4 separate regions of the Homo sapiens genome follow, and regions 1, 2 and 3 are each linked to region 4. Evidence: promoter capture Hi-C in human tissues and cell types (Jung and others, 2019). All regions are on one chromosome and are shown on one strand. Each heading gives the region's core, a stretch centred on a gene start or on the middle of the fragment in contact. The rest is flanking DNA. Distances are from core to core; before and after follow the strand shown. Region 1 overlaps SLIT3 (slit guidance ligand 3). Region 2 has its middle 140 kb from the start of SLIT3. Region 3 overlaps LOC105377714 (a long non-coding RNA gene). Region 4 holds the start of SLIT3 (slit guidance ligand 3).

What was found. The method cuts DNA at HindIII sites, captures the fragments that hold promoters and counts their contacts. A contact is called where the count stands out against the background at its distance.
Region 1: a fragment that was not itself captured here is called in contact with the fragment with the promoter of SLIT3 in region 4 in 4 of the 25 tissues and cell types used here (bladder, heart right ventricle, liver and 1 more).
Region 2: a contact is called between a fragment that was not itself captured here and the fragment with the promoter of SLIT3 in region 4, in 2 of the 25 tissues and cell types used here (mesenchymal stem cells and small bowel).
Region 3: a contact is called between a fragment that was not itself captured here and the fragment with the promoter of SLIT3 in region 4, in 2 of the 25 tissues and cell types used here (bladder and mesenchymal stem cells).

Annotation. Positions count from the first base shown.
Region 1 is chr5:169,076,398-169,079,758 of GRCh38, forward strand. All of the region lies in intron 4 of SLIT3 (slit guidance ligand 3), which reads right to left. Among named protein-coding and RNA genes, the nearest start is that of SLIT3-AS1, 65 kb to the left of the region's middle. The HindIII fragment of the contact is 5,501 bases long and covers 1-3,361 here.
Region 2 is chr5:169,438,174-169,441,397 of GRCh38, forward strand. No RefSeq gene overlaps it. Among named protein-coding and RNA genes, the nearest start is that of SLIT3, 140 kb to the left of the region's middle. The HindIII fragment of the contact is 3,494 bases long and covers 1-3,128 here.
Region 3 is chr5:169,502,676-169,505,934 of GRCh38, forward strand. The region is part of intron 2 of LOC105377714 (a long non-coding RNA gene); the gene reads right to left. All of the region lies in intron 3 of LOC105377715 (a long non-coding RNA gene), which reads left to right. Among named protein-coding and RNA genes, the nearest start is that of SPDL1, 79 kb to the right of the region's middle. The HindIII fragment of the contact is 4,832 bases long and covers 1-3,259 here.
Region 4 is chr5:169,299,870-169,302,861 of GRCh38, forward strand. SLIT3 (slit guidance ligand 3) reads right to left here and starts at 1,270. Exons shown (of 36, transcript NM_003062.4): 1 at 644-1,270. The coding sequence starts at 840. The HindIII fragment of the contact is 12,348 bases long and covers 1-2,992 here.

The DNA.
Region 1 (3,361 bases), core at 761-3,260, 220 kb before region 4:
TCACAGCAAGAAAAGCAGCACTAGAGCTTCCCTCTCCATCTCCCTGCCTCCTTTCTTCCACTATCTTTGCCTTGTCTCTACCCTCATTTCTCTCTCCTTTCCCCCTTCTCCCTACCTCTCTCTCTCTAGCTTGCTAAAACTTCTTTTTATAGAACAGGAAAGAAATTGTCAAAATGGATTTCTTTTTTTTCTGATCTCATACTTACTTTAAGAGGAGAGAGAGGGTGGAAGAAATTTGTCTTGAGAGCCTGAGAGAGACAGGGAACATTTTATAACTCAGTTTTTGGAAATTCTAGTCCTTGAAAACTCTAGAACTGGTTGTAGGATGTGGGTGAATATAACCTTTCCCAAGAATATTCTTTTTAAATTTAAAGACTTGAGCTAAGCAGAAATAGAATCTAGTTCAATTCATCGAGTACAGGACTTGACAGTCAATCAAGTGCTACTCAGTTGATGAGACTTGGGACAACTAAGTACTTAGGATATAATAAAAATATGCCCCAATTTTATACAACTCTCACACACACAAAAATCCCTCTCTCTCATACACACACGCACACACACACATACACACACACACACCCTAGAGGGATAAACAGTTGACCCTTGAACAACACAGGTTTGAACTACCTGGGATCACTTGTATGTGGATTTTCTTCTGCTTCTGTCCCCCTGAGACAGCAAGAACAAACTCTCCTCTTCTTCCTCCTCTCTAGCCTACTCCATGTGAGGAGGACAAGGATGAAGACCTTTATGGTGATCCATTTCCATTTAATGAATTGTAAGTATATTTTCTCTTCCTTGTGTTTTTCCTAATAATTTTCTTTTCTCTAGTTTATTGTAAGAATACAGTATGTAGGCCGGGCGCGGTGGCTCACACCTGTAATCCCAGCACTTTGGGAGGCTGAGGCGGGCGGATCACAAGGTCAGGAGTTCAAGACCAGCCTGGCCAAGATGGTGAAAACCCGTCTCTACTGAAAAAATACAAAAAATTAGCCTGGTGCAGTGGCTGGTGCCTGTAATCCCAGCTACTTGGGAAGCTGAGGCAGGAGAATCACTTGAACTCAGAGGGCGGAGGTTGCAGTGAGCCGAGATCACACCACTGCACTCCAGCCTGGGTGACAGAGTGAGACCCCGTCTCAAAAAAACAAAAAACAAAAAACAAAAAACAGTAATACATATAAAATATCTGTTCATTAACTGTTTATGTTATCAGTAAGGCTTCTGATCAACATTAGGCTATTAGTAGCTAAGTTTTCGGGGAGTCAAAAGTTAAACAGAGATTTTTGACTGTGTGGGGGGTCACCACCCCAAACCCCTGTGTTGTTCAAGGGTCAATGTATATCAAAATGTCACGGAGAGATGGGTTATCACTTGATGGGCTTATATGTGTTTTCTACATTTTCCAAAATTTCCAGAATAAATGTCCACAACTTCTTCAATTACTAAAAAAAAAAAAAAAAAGTGTCATTGTAAAAAAATATTATTTTAAAAAATAGCAACACTTTTTAAGTTTCCTTTTTTAAGGCTGTGTCTCTACACACAGCCAGTTTGTTGCCTGCCTTGCCAAGTTCATTGACAACCACAATCTCCAACCCATACAGGATCAAGATTCAGCTTGAGTCTGTGCATTGGAGAATCCTAGGAAACCTTGCTTTACTTTCTAGGGGCATGATCTGGGGCCTTGTGTTCATTTTGCTTCACCCACAGGGATCACATGCTGTGCCTACCCACTCCTGACCTCAACCACCCACTGCTTCAATTTCAACACATCAGGTTACAAATACAGGGTTCATCGATAAGGGGCTTATGTCCAAATGCAATGTCTCCCCAGGCCCAAGTCCAACGCAAACCAGCCAAAAGATTCCCTGGCTTCCTATTCTCCTTTCTACGCTCTGTTTCTGGTTTCCTCTCCACCTTCAGGTTTCATGTCGTTTTGTACCTAAGGCATGTCAGGAACTCTGGGGGCTGCCTTCACAAATATATTTCTCCTTGGATACCCACCACCGATAAAGTGAAGATTTGTATTCCCATCTTACTGAAGAGGAACCTGAGGTTCAGAGTAGTCAAATGACCAAGCAGAAATCACAGACCCGGTGGGGAATAAAAGGCCAGTCTCCCGCAAACCCAGCACCCTTCCTACTTCACCAACTTCACTCATTTCCTTGTTTTCCTTGTTACTCTCCAGCTTCTCCCTCCTATCACCTTCCTTTCTTTACCCTTCATCTTCATCCTTCTAAGAAATATGTCTAAAATCAGAAAAAATGAGCACTAATGAAAATAACTGTGCTAGGAGCTTTTGCACACAATATCTCAATACATAATTTCAGCTACTCAGTGTGGTAGGTGATATGTATTCATTCCAATATTTATTGAACACTGATGGTGTGGCAGATATCATACCAGACACGCCAAGTGAAATAAGGAAAACAAACCCAATTCCTGTCCTCAAGGAGCTGTAGTCTAGGAAATATTCCTATTATTTGTTTTCAAAAAGAAATAAACTAAGACTTGGAGGAATTAATTAGTTTTTTAAATGCCATAGTTCAAACTCAAAATCCTTTATCACACTGGATTTTAAGCTTTCTCATGGCACAGAATTCTGGAGGAGATTGGAAAAAAAAATTGCTTCCTAAAATTCAGTCTCTGCCTTTAGCTCCCTAAACAAGAAAGAAGAGAAGGCGAGACAGAGACAGTGACAGAGACAGAAAAGCAGATCCTTGGCTACTCATCCTGCCGTATCTCAAGGCAATGAATCACTGATGAATTCTTTCCTTTTCTATCTGGGAGAAAAAATGCTTTAAGGAGCCCCAAGTTTTCAGGCCAGGGTTTGTCCAGGTGGTGTGTAACCCACAGAATCAAAGGGATGAGGCTGTTGTTCCACACCTGCCTGCTTTCAGCTCTCTTTTGTTTTCAGATCTTATAGTTCTAGCTAAACAAAGAAGTTCTCCTTCTCATCCTTGGTCTCCAGGCAGAGAAAATGTCAAGTTCATCAGCTGAAACGAAAACTCCCACTGTCCAGGCTAAGAGACCAGGGTCAGGGATGGGATCCCAAACTTTGAGGTGGAAGATGGAGAAAGGGTGGGGGAGGAGGGGGGGAGGGAGGAGGAGGAAGGAGGAGAGGGAGGAGGAAGGAGGAGGAGGAAGAAGGAGGAAGAAGGAGGAGGAGGAAGGAGGAGGAGAGAAGGGGAGGAGGAGGAGGGAGGAGGAGGAGGAAGGAGGAGAGAAGAGGAGGAGGGAAGAGGAGGAGGAGGGAAGAGGAGGAGGAGGGAAGAGGAGGAGGAGGGAAGAGGAGGAGGAGGGAAGAGGAGGAGGAGGGAAGAGGAGGAGGAGGAGGGAAGAGGAGGAGAGAAGAGGAGGA
Region 2 (3,224 bases), core at 132-2,631, 140 kb after region 4:
AACCTCCAGAAGAAAACTGCACAATTCTGTAGGAAGCCATGGAAGAAGATACTGTCCATTCTGTCTCTCAGTGTCCTTTATACAATGACTCATATGATAAATGCCTAAGTCTGGTTCCAGGAAAGAGTTTGTCTCTACAGAAAAATTTTTATGTTGTCCATTGTCATACAACCAAAACTAAGTAACCCAACATGTTTCCACTTCTTCTTTGCTGCCAGAAAGCTTGTGCCAAGATGTATTACCCAAGTGTTATAATTAGCCCCAATCAGGTGCCTAAAGCCATCAGCTTCTTTTGCATCCTTCAGACAGTCCCAGTTTTCTTTTACCCTTGAATGGTTTATTCTATGGTGATTGAAGCTGTAAGTTTCTTCAGTCTCTCTGGAAGAGTTGGGTCACCTGACCTTTTAATGTCTCTTTCAACTACAAAATTCTATGAAGTCTTCAGTAACAATCATTAGAGCAAGATGATTAGCTCTAAATGGAACTTATAGCCTCTGATTCCAATAAGTGGAGGAGAGATGAAGAGATTTAAAATGCATTAAGAACCTAAATAGGCTAAGCGCTCTACCACTCTAGTGTTCTTAAGCTCACCAGCCTGGGAGTACAGATGTGGCCATGTTAACATTCGCAGCCACATCTGCAACTCAGTGTCCCCACCACCCCTTGCAAAGAAACAGAGCTTCAGAGTCTCTCTTGATTATTCCTGGGAGTCAATAGCAGTGTCTCATGAGAATTCCATGTTCTTGGGATGTTGCTGTCATGAATACAGGTTTTGTCAGCTGGGCATGTTCCCATCCAGTCAACCCTCACTGCTCCTCTGGTAGGCTCTGACCTACGTAGAATGAAGTCTTCTGAACAAAAATCCCAAACATGCAAACCATATGCCAAAATATTGCTATATATTTTCTTTCCCTTGGTGCCATTCGATGAAGTAATGGGAAAACCATCTCCCCACTCCTTCCAGTGGAGTAAGAATGGGTATAGTATGGGCAGAATTGCCCATGAAAAGAATATCAAGGGTGAAGACCATTGTTTCTAGATCTGAGCCTTAAGGAGCTTCAACTCAAGCTGGCTGGGGAGGCAGCAAAGGAGACTGAAGAGGAGGAGCCAGAAAGGTGGGAACAAAATGCAAGAGAGGATGGTGTTGAAAACTCTGAGAGACGAACACGTTTCACACAGGAGCACCAAACACTGCTACAAGCGTTATTAAGCTTTCACAGCACCAAGAGGCCAGTGCTGTCCCTCCCGTGTTGCAGGTGAAGAATCTAGGCTCAGACAGATTAATGTGGTTTGCCCAAGAGCATAAAGCTGGTTAGCATCAGGCTGAGACTCAAAGCCAAGTTTCCTATGCTCTGGCCATGACACACCTGTGTGAGATGGATTGCAGAACACGCCTTTTCTGTTCCTCTAATCTTGTCAATGTTTACTTCCCAAACTTACAATAGACTATGTTTCTATTATTACGCTTCCAAAGTCAACTTCTCCCTCTGACAAATGCCAAGGACAGCAACTGAATGGCTGAAGAAATCAGATGCCCATCCTCTTATTTGGGCTATGGCAATAAGGAGGAAAGAACTTACAGGGCAGATTTGAAACTGAGATAGGGTTTGGAGGTTTCTCTTTTTAATGTTGTTTTCTACCAGTATACTAGTAGATATAAATATGCCTCATAAAATTATAAAGCATATATATATATATATATATATATATATATGAGATTATCAGCTTTATTGGAGCATGAGAAAAGAATGGATCTTTGGGGATTCGGTATTTGCTTATTCTAGCTACAAGCCAACATCAATACATAAAGCAAGATTGAGAAACTCTATAATAATATTCTATTTTTACTGAGAGAAGTCTCTGCCCATCTGTGTCATCTGTGTGACTGACTTTTTTTGGAAGTGGGGTGGATTAAAAAGACTAGAAATACTCTGACAGTTAGGAGACCAAATATTGTTTTGAGGGGAAAAGCATGTTATCTGAATATTTTTCTAGGTTTTGGCCTTCCATTACTGCAGCCTCCTTGACTCTTTAAAAAGGGGCCAACAGTATTTTGAAGCTCCTGCGAGCAAGCCGGAGGAAGCTCAGTCAGACTGGGCACTCAACCTATGCTGCTCCTGAGTTCATTAACATAAGACATGTATTGAGGCATCTCATACCACCAGGAAGCTTTATTTCCCCAGAATCACAGGATAGTTAGAGAGAGTAAACACCCTGAAGACCTGGCCGGTGTTTTTAATATTTTTTTAAGGATATGGAACCCTTTGTGTGTGTGTGTAAATATAACAAGTTGAAAAATATTATCTTGACATTTGACATCTTAATCCCTCTAAGAGAGGAAGCTATCATTGTTTAAAAAATACCTTGGTAAACATGCCTGGGATATGACATCAGTGGGAGCCAAGACTTCAGAGGAGAAAGAAGACAAACTATTCTGGATGAGAACAGAGGAGGGACATGGGCAAATTTTTGTTTTTGTTCCTGAATGGGAGGAGGACTGGTGAGTGAGGGGGAAAGAATGGAGACAGGACTGAGAAGAACCAGAAATTAAAATAATAGTAGTAATAGCCTAACATGTACACGTATATGAGATCTATCTATCTATCTATCTATCTATCTATCTATCTATCTATCTATCTATCTATCATCTATATATCTATCATCCATCATGTATCTATCTATTTGCATATATAAGCTATAATATCTGGCTCTGTTCTAATTGTTTTACTTACATTAACTCATTCAATCTTCATATGAATCTAAGTAGATACTATAATACTATGGTCCTCATTTTAAATATGAGAAACTGAGGCACAGAAAGGCTAAGTAACTTGCCCAAATCCCACAACTAGCAAATATGGAGGAGTCAAGGAGTAGGGGAAATGGCATCTTAAAACCACAAATGTCAGCTATTGAAGTTAATTTGCTTTGCTGTAAAGTAAAACTGTTTTTACTTCTTCCCTCTCACCCCTATCAAAAAATGCCTTTTGTAAAATCTACACATATTTTGGGTAATCGAGTTCATTTTTATGGAATCCAAAGAAAGGACCCATGTCTGGGCCCAGTGCAATGTCACAGGGTGATCCAGTGGCCTGAGAGATAGGAGGGGCCATGAAAAATGTGCTCCAATTCCGGGAACTCTGAGAGTCTTGCACAGAATTTTGAACTTTGGAATTGGTGGATTTTAAGCAATTTAAACAAGATCTCAGGAGGCAAGGAAAACC
Region 3 (3,259 bases), core at 359-2,858, 200 kb after region 4:
GGTAAAATGAGGTCACGTGGGTGGGCCCTATTCCTATAGAACTTAGTGTCCTTATAAGAAGAGGTGATTAGGACACATAGAAAACAGACCAGGGGAAGACCACATCAAGAAAAGGGAGATGGCAGCCAAGGAAAGAGGCCTCAGAATAAAGTCAACCCTGCCAACACTTTGATTTTGTATGTCTAGCCTCCAGGGGTGTAAGGAAGTAAACTTCTGTTGTTTAAGCCAGTTTGTGGTATTTGTTGTGGTAGCCCTAACAAACTAATATACTTACCAATTTGCACAAGATAAAACTATATGTGGAATGTTTCATTTATATTTTACAAATGGCTGGCTTGCCCTTAATTCCTCCTTCCTGAGTGTGTTTTGGAATGAAAGCTAATGTCATTGAGGCCCCAAATATCTTAACTGAATCAGATCAACCTGAGGCCATTTGGGTATGTTGTGCAAAAATCAATCCTTTAAATAGCCCTAAAACATGGTCCAAGCAGCTGCTTCCCCCACTCCACACTCTGGCTCTTGAAACTAGGGAAGCATTTTTGGTCATCAACATGAACATATGACTTAGCTCCCCTTTCTCTCCCCCCAGCCCCTGAATTGGAAGGTTTCACAGGAGAGATGGGGAATGAACTGGAAGTACTTTACACTAGTCATCTTGCAGAGAAAATCTTAAAGCCTTTTTCTTCTCTCTCCATTTTTTTTCTTAAATTTGGCAACTTTGAAAGTCATTACTCTTCTCTTTCCCCAGCAGGCTTCACCCTGAAGGCATCCCTTCTGGCTGCCCCCAGGAAAGTTAAATCCCCAGTCCTCCTCTCCTCTGTTTAGTAGCAAAGCCTCTCTTTTACTCTTTTAGAACTTGGATACCAGATGATAATACCAAGGCCCTGAGATCTTAAAGTGAATTTATCAGAGCATTTTCTCAACAAAAGCCAATGTTTCAAATAAGAGATTCTGATATCAAGTGTTGAGAGACTAAAATTATTTCTCCATCTATATGAGAGAAGGAAAATAAAAAGAAAGCAAATAAAAGAAAAGGTGTTTGAATACAAGAATGTTAGATCCTACAATATTTTTTGTCAGAGAAGAGAGCCTGGTGTTTTGTGTCCTAAATAACTAGACAAGCTTACTAGCCTAGGAAGTCTAGACTGAAAAATCACATAGCTCTGCCTGAGTGGGGGTCAGCTAATCCCATTCCCAGAGAGAAAAAAAAAAACATGTTTTCCTTTTGAATTAACATTAACTCACATTAAACACACGCACACATACACAGTAAAATTATATTTAGAAATGTTTTAGCTCTGGCTTCTCAGCAGGGGTAAGTGCCTCAATTTCCTGCAAATCATTGTCAAGTGTCTAGACAGGAGAAGTGGAAGCAAAGATAAGAGATCCTGAATTTCAACAGAGGGGCCATCAAGCTAAACCGAACTCAGCTGTGCTTTTTCACTTGGCAACAAGCGATAACCCTCTGATAGCCACATATCTTACATGTTGCTTTTGACTTCTGATAAGAAAGAGGAAAGTGGGAAACAATGATGAGCGTTGGTGATAAACACCCGGGCTGGCATTTGCCTCAGTCTTTTTAAATTAACTGACCCCCAGAGGAATCCCAAACCCTATAGCCCTATCTAGTATCTGGAAAGGTTTATGAGGATTTGAAGCTACAGCTGAAGATGACCAATACTTTAAAGAGTTTGTGAATTAGCACCTTATATGTAAACACACCTCTAAGTCAATCACACTTTGTAGAATTCCCAAAGTCTCAATACCCTTCCTGAAAGCAGGTTTTACAATCTCTTAATCTTTAGGAACTTGACAGGGCCTAAGAGGTCAGCAGCAGATCATATATACCACATTAGATTCACTATGGGAATACCCAAAACCAGTAGCAGTTTCTTCCCTTGCAAACATTCATAGAGTATTCGAGGACCTCATCTCTCACTGTGCAGCAAGACTTGGACGTGTCATTTGCTGAATTCATTCCTCATGCATCCATACATACGTCAAGTACTTTTTTTGAGACCTTTATTGAATAAGGTGGAAGTCAAATGGGTGTTCCGCAATCAGGTCACCTAATTTGAAACTCTGACTCTATTATTCACTAGCTGTGCAAATTTCAGAGAGTTGTTTAACCTCTTGGACCTCACTTTTCCTATCTGCAAAATGGGGATAATGACAAGACTTACCTCTTAGGATTGCTGTGAGAGTTAGAGAGTTATAGATGCAAAACACTTAGAACAGCGTTTCAATATATGATAAGTTCTTAATGAATTTAAATTCTCTCTCTTATGTGCCAAACACAAGTCTTTGGTTAATCAGAAGATGAAAAGATAAATGAAAAGAATATTTTAGGGATGATGGTGAAGAAGAGCAGCTCACCAACTGCTTAAGAATTAAAAATCAGTCAGCACGGAGGTACCAAGTCAGATCCTAGCACTTTTCTAGACTTATAATACAATATTTTGTAAGACAGTGCTAACTTAGGTTAAACTTAGAACAAATCATTAAACAGGTTGTCTAGAAGTTCAAAGAGTGAGAGATCACTGTGAACTGAAGGAGCAGGCAGGACTTCATGGAGGCATGACTTGTCCTGGGCAGTGTTGGACAAGTAGAATATAGATGAGCAGATAGAGGAGGAGGTTACTGGGGAAACAGCATCAAAAGCAGAGAGGTAGATATGATTGTGACATATGTTGCACTGAACATCCTGCACTAATTTTCAGTGGTCAGTGCTGTGACTGGCTTCCCACCATCATTATCCTGTGCCTTATACCTTTAGGTGGGCTTCTGCACAAGCCTCAGGCTACCTTTGGGTTCATCCCTTCTAGTACATCCTGCACACCCTCCCCCAGGTCAGCCTTTTCCAACACTGCTGCCCTCTTATCTCTAGCCTGCCTCTAAGTATTCAGTGCTTGTCTGTTCCCCCCATCTCTACCCTCACCTCTATGCCTACCTTATTGCTTTCAGGGTAAAACCAAGATCCTTAGCCTAATAGTCAACCCTCTTCAGAATCTGAAATTAAACTGCTTTCAGTTATGTCTCCTAGCATACTTTTCTTATCATTTTTCTGACAATTCTTCCATCTAGGCCTCTATTTCCTGCTTCTATCCAAACTCCAATATGAAATTACCTCCATTCTCCCCTCAACCATCAAATTCATTGTTAAATCTATAATCTGTAAACTTTCTGATTCTTTGTCAATTTCCTAATTCTTTAAAAATTTGTTGCTATCTTTCCAATCTCTTTGCTAACATCCCTAATC
Region 4 (2,992 bases), core at 20-2,519:
GGAGGCATTTATAACCGAGCCATAAAAAATTCACCCGGGGCTGCAACTTGGCATCTCCCAGACTGCGCTCCAGGCAGAGCGGGTTTTGCGAGCACCCACTCTGAATCTGTCCAGTTCCTCAGAAGTTAAACCTTCACCCACACTCTCAACTTTCCTTGCAAGGGCAGCCAGAGAGCGGCTGGCCCATTCTGATCTCCAAGCAGGTCAACAGTCTCGGGCCCTCTCTCCCGCCTCCGCGCCTTGACGGCCCATCATCCTATAGCTTTCTCCTTCGCCCGCCCCCCTTTTTAACGAGCGCAGACCCCTGACCCTCACCCTAAGACCTTGAGGCTGCAGTGCTCTTGCCTCCCCTCGCCTCTCCTCAGCTACTCCTTGGAAGCTGTCAGCGGGCCCTGCGTCTGGAACCCTCACCCCTGGAGAGGCACTGCTCTTTGCCCATCGCTGGGGGTTTCGAGACCTCTCTTTCCAGATCTGACCAAGCCTACAGACCCCCAGCTCGGAGAGTGAGGGATCGTATCCAGGAAGGGATGAGAATAGAGACTGCATCCAGGGAGGCCGAGGGGAAAGGACGGATCTGGCGCCTGGGGCCCCCTCGGTGGGACCCAGGTGGGTGGCCCGCGTGGGGTGGGGCAGGGGTACTCACAGGCGCTCAGCGTTGCGGGGGATGCCCCGAGGAACCGCGCGGAGGCCCAGCCCGTGGCAGTCCACGCTGGCAGCGGAGCAGGTACACTTGGTGGGGCAGGCGACGGCTGGAGGCCCACTCAGGACGCTCGCCAGCGCCAAGGCCAGCGCCAGGCGGGCGCGCACGGCGGCGCCGACCCCTGCCCACCCGGGGGCCATGGTGTGCAGGGCCCCGCTCCTGGAGGAGGCTGCCTCTGCGGGGCAAGACGCGTGGAGCCCGAGGAGGCGCGCGGGGAGCGCGGGCGGCCTGGGGAGCGGGCGGCGGAGTTAGCGCGGAGGAGGGGCGAGCTCGGTGCTCAGGCGCACGGGGCGCGGGCGGAGCGGGGCGCTCCGGGCGGCGGCGGCGGCAGCAACAGCAGCTCCATCGGCGGGGCCGGCGCTGCCCCGCTGCGCATCGCTGGGAGTGCCCAGGTGCGGAGCGCCCCCTGGCCCCGCTGGCCCGCGGGCCGGGTTGGGGACCTGGGGCGAGCGCAATGGGGCGTGGCGCCCGGGGAGGTCCGGCTTGGGGCTGGGCTGGGGAGCGCGGCGGCTGCGGCTGGGGCACGGGGCGGCCGGGTGAGCTGGCCGGCGCTCGCTCTCTCCATTCAGTGAGCACGGCAGACACCGGAGACGCGGGGCCCACCCCTCCGGCCCCCCCCCGACCAAGAAACGCCAACTCCGCCTCCCATTGGCTGCGCCGCGCGTCATGTCGACTAAGTTGGGAACTTTGCTGGAGCGACCGAGAGCCTGGAGGGAGGAGGCAGTAGAGGAGGGAGAGAGAAGGAACCAGGGAAGGAAAGGGGCTCGGCCAGCAGGGCCCCTGGAAAGAAACACTGAAACTCATTCACTGTTAAGATCCAAGGACGGATAAGGCTCCTGACACTTTTTTTTTTTTAATTTTTGCACTGAGCTGAGCACTCTACTCATATTCTTTACTTAAGTCCACGATCTTCCAAGGGGTCGTCTGAAAACAGCTCAGAGAAGTGAAGCGACTTGCTGGAGGTCGCACAGCTGCTAGGGACGCCAAACCATGGCAGTGTCGCCCACGAAGCCGCTTCCCTACCGCACCTAGTACTCATGGCAGAGATCCACAATTTTGCCTGAAGAGCCTTGGTTGACACCAATGTACTCCACAGCTACACACACACACACACCGTGGTCCATGTTGTTGAGGTCACTGCTGGCAAACCTTACCCGGAAACTTGCCCTGCTTTGCCCAGACCCAGCGCTTGGTGGACTGGTAAAAGTAGTGATGGCAGCGACTTGGACCCCTGGATTGACAATGCCTTGTTCCATCCTCGGGTTTCTGCTTCCTGACTGGGTGACTCTGGGCCAATCGTGTCATCTCTGAGCCTTCGTTTTCTCAAATCCGGGGCCACAGTCCTACCTGGCCTCACCTCCCTGGGTTGTTTGGAGCATCACAGAAGAGAACGTGTTTTTGCAAAAGTCATTCGCAGACGAGGCATCCCTTCTGTCCCCAGCGCCTTCTTTCTTCCAGCGCCCGCTTTAAATTGGCTAGGTCTGAGCTTTTCCAGATGCCAGTGGGGAGGGGCGTGTGCGTTAGAGGCTCCATAAATACTTGTAGGAATGATTTTGTTTGTTTGTTTGAAAGGAAAGGGCAGGAACTGGAGGAAGTATTGCCCAGATTTCCTTGAGGTCCCCTCACACTGAGAAGGCCTGAATGAGCCCTGCATATATATACACACACACTGGTGCCTACGTATTCACAGCCACGCACACACTCTCACATACTCAGGCTCACACACACCCATTTATACACCGGCAATCACACACACGTGTACATGCATGCTCGCACACACACTCACATAGTGACAACTATACTCCTGAGAGCGCTTCTCTTTTCTTTCATAAGAATACTATTCTGATTTCTTCTACCTCATTTTCCTTCAAGGAAACTTTCAACTACTTGACCACATCCTGTGAATATATAGTAGAGTTGTAGATTTTATTGTATTATACTTAGCAGATTTTCAAAGTCTTAGCTTTGGGCACCCACTTGCGCGCGCGTACACACAAACACACACATACGCACACTCACTCAAACACACACACTCGAGTCCCTTCATCATTCATAAACACATTAGGTGCAATTTACTGCTGTTATTCTTGGGAACGGCTTTCTGTACAGATGCTGTTGTTATCGCCCCCTGGTGGCTGGCGAGGGTCTATGCTCCGGTCTTCAGGGTGACTTCGGTATTTAAGAACTCTAAACATCCTTTTATCCCTTTGCTCTGAAGCTTTCCTCCAAACCTTGAACCAATTTAGTACCAGGACTGAGGCAGATGAGAGAACCGGGCAAGGGCCCAAGGGC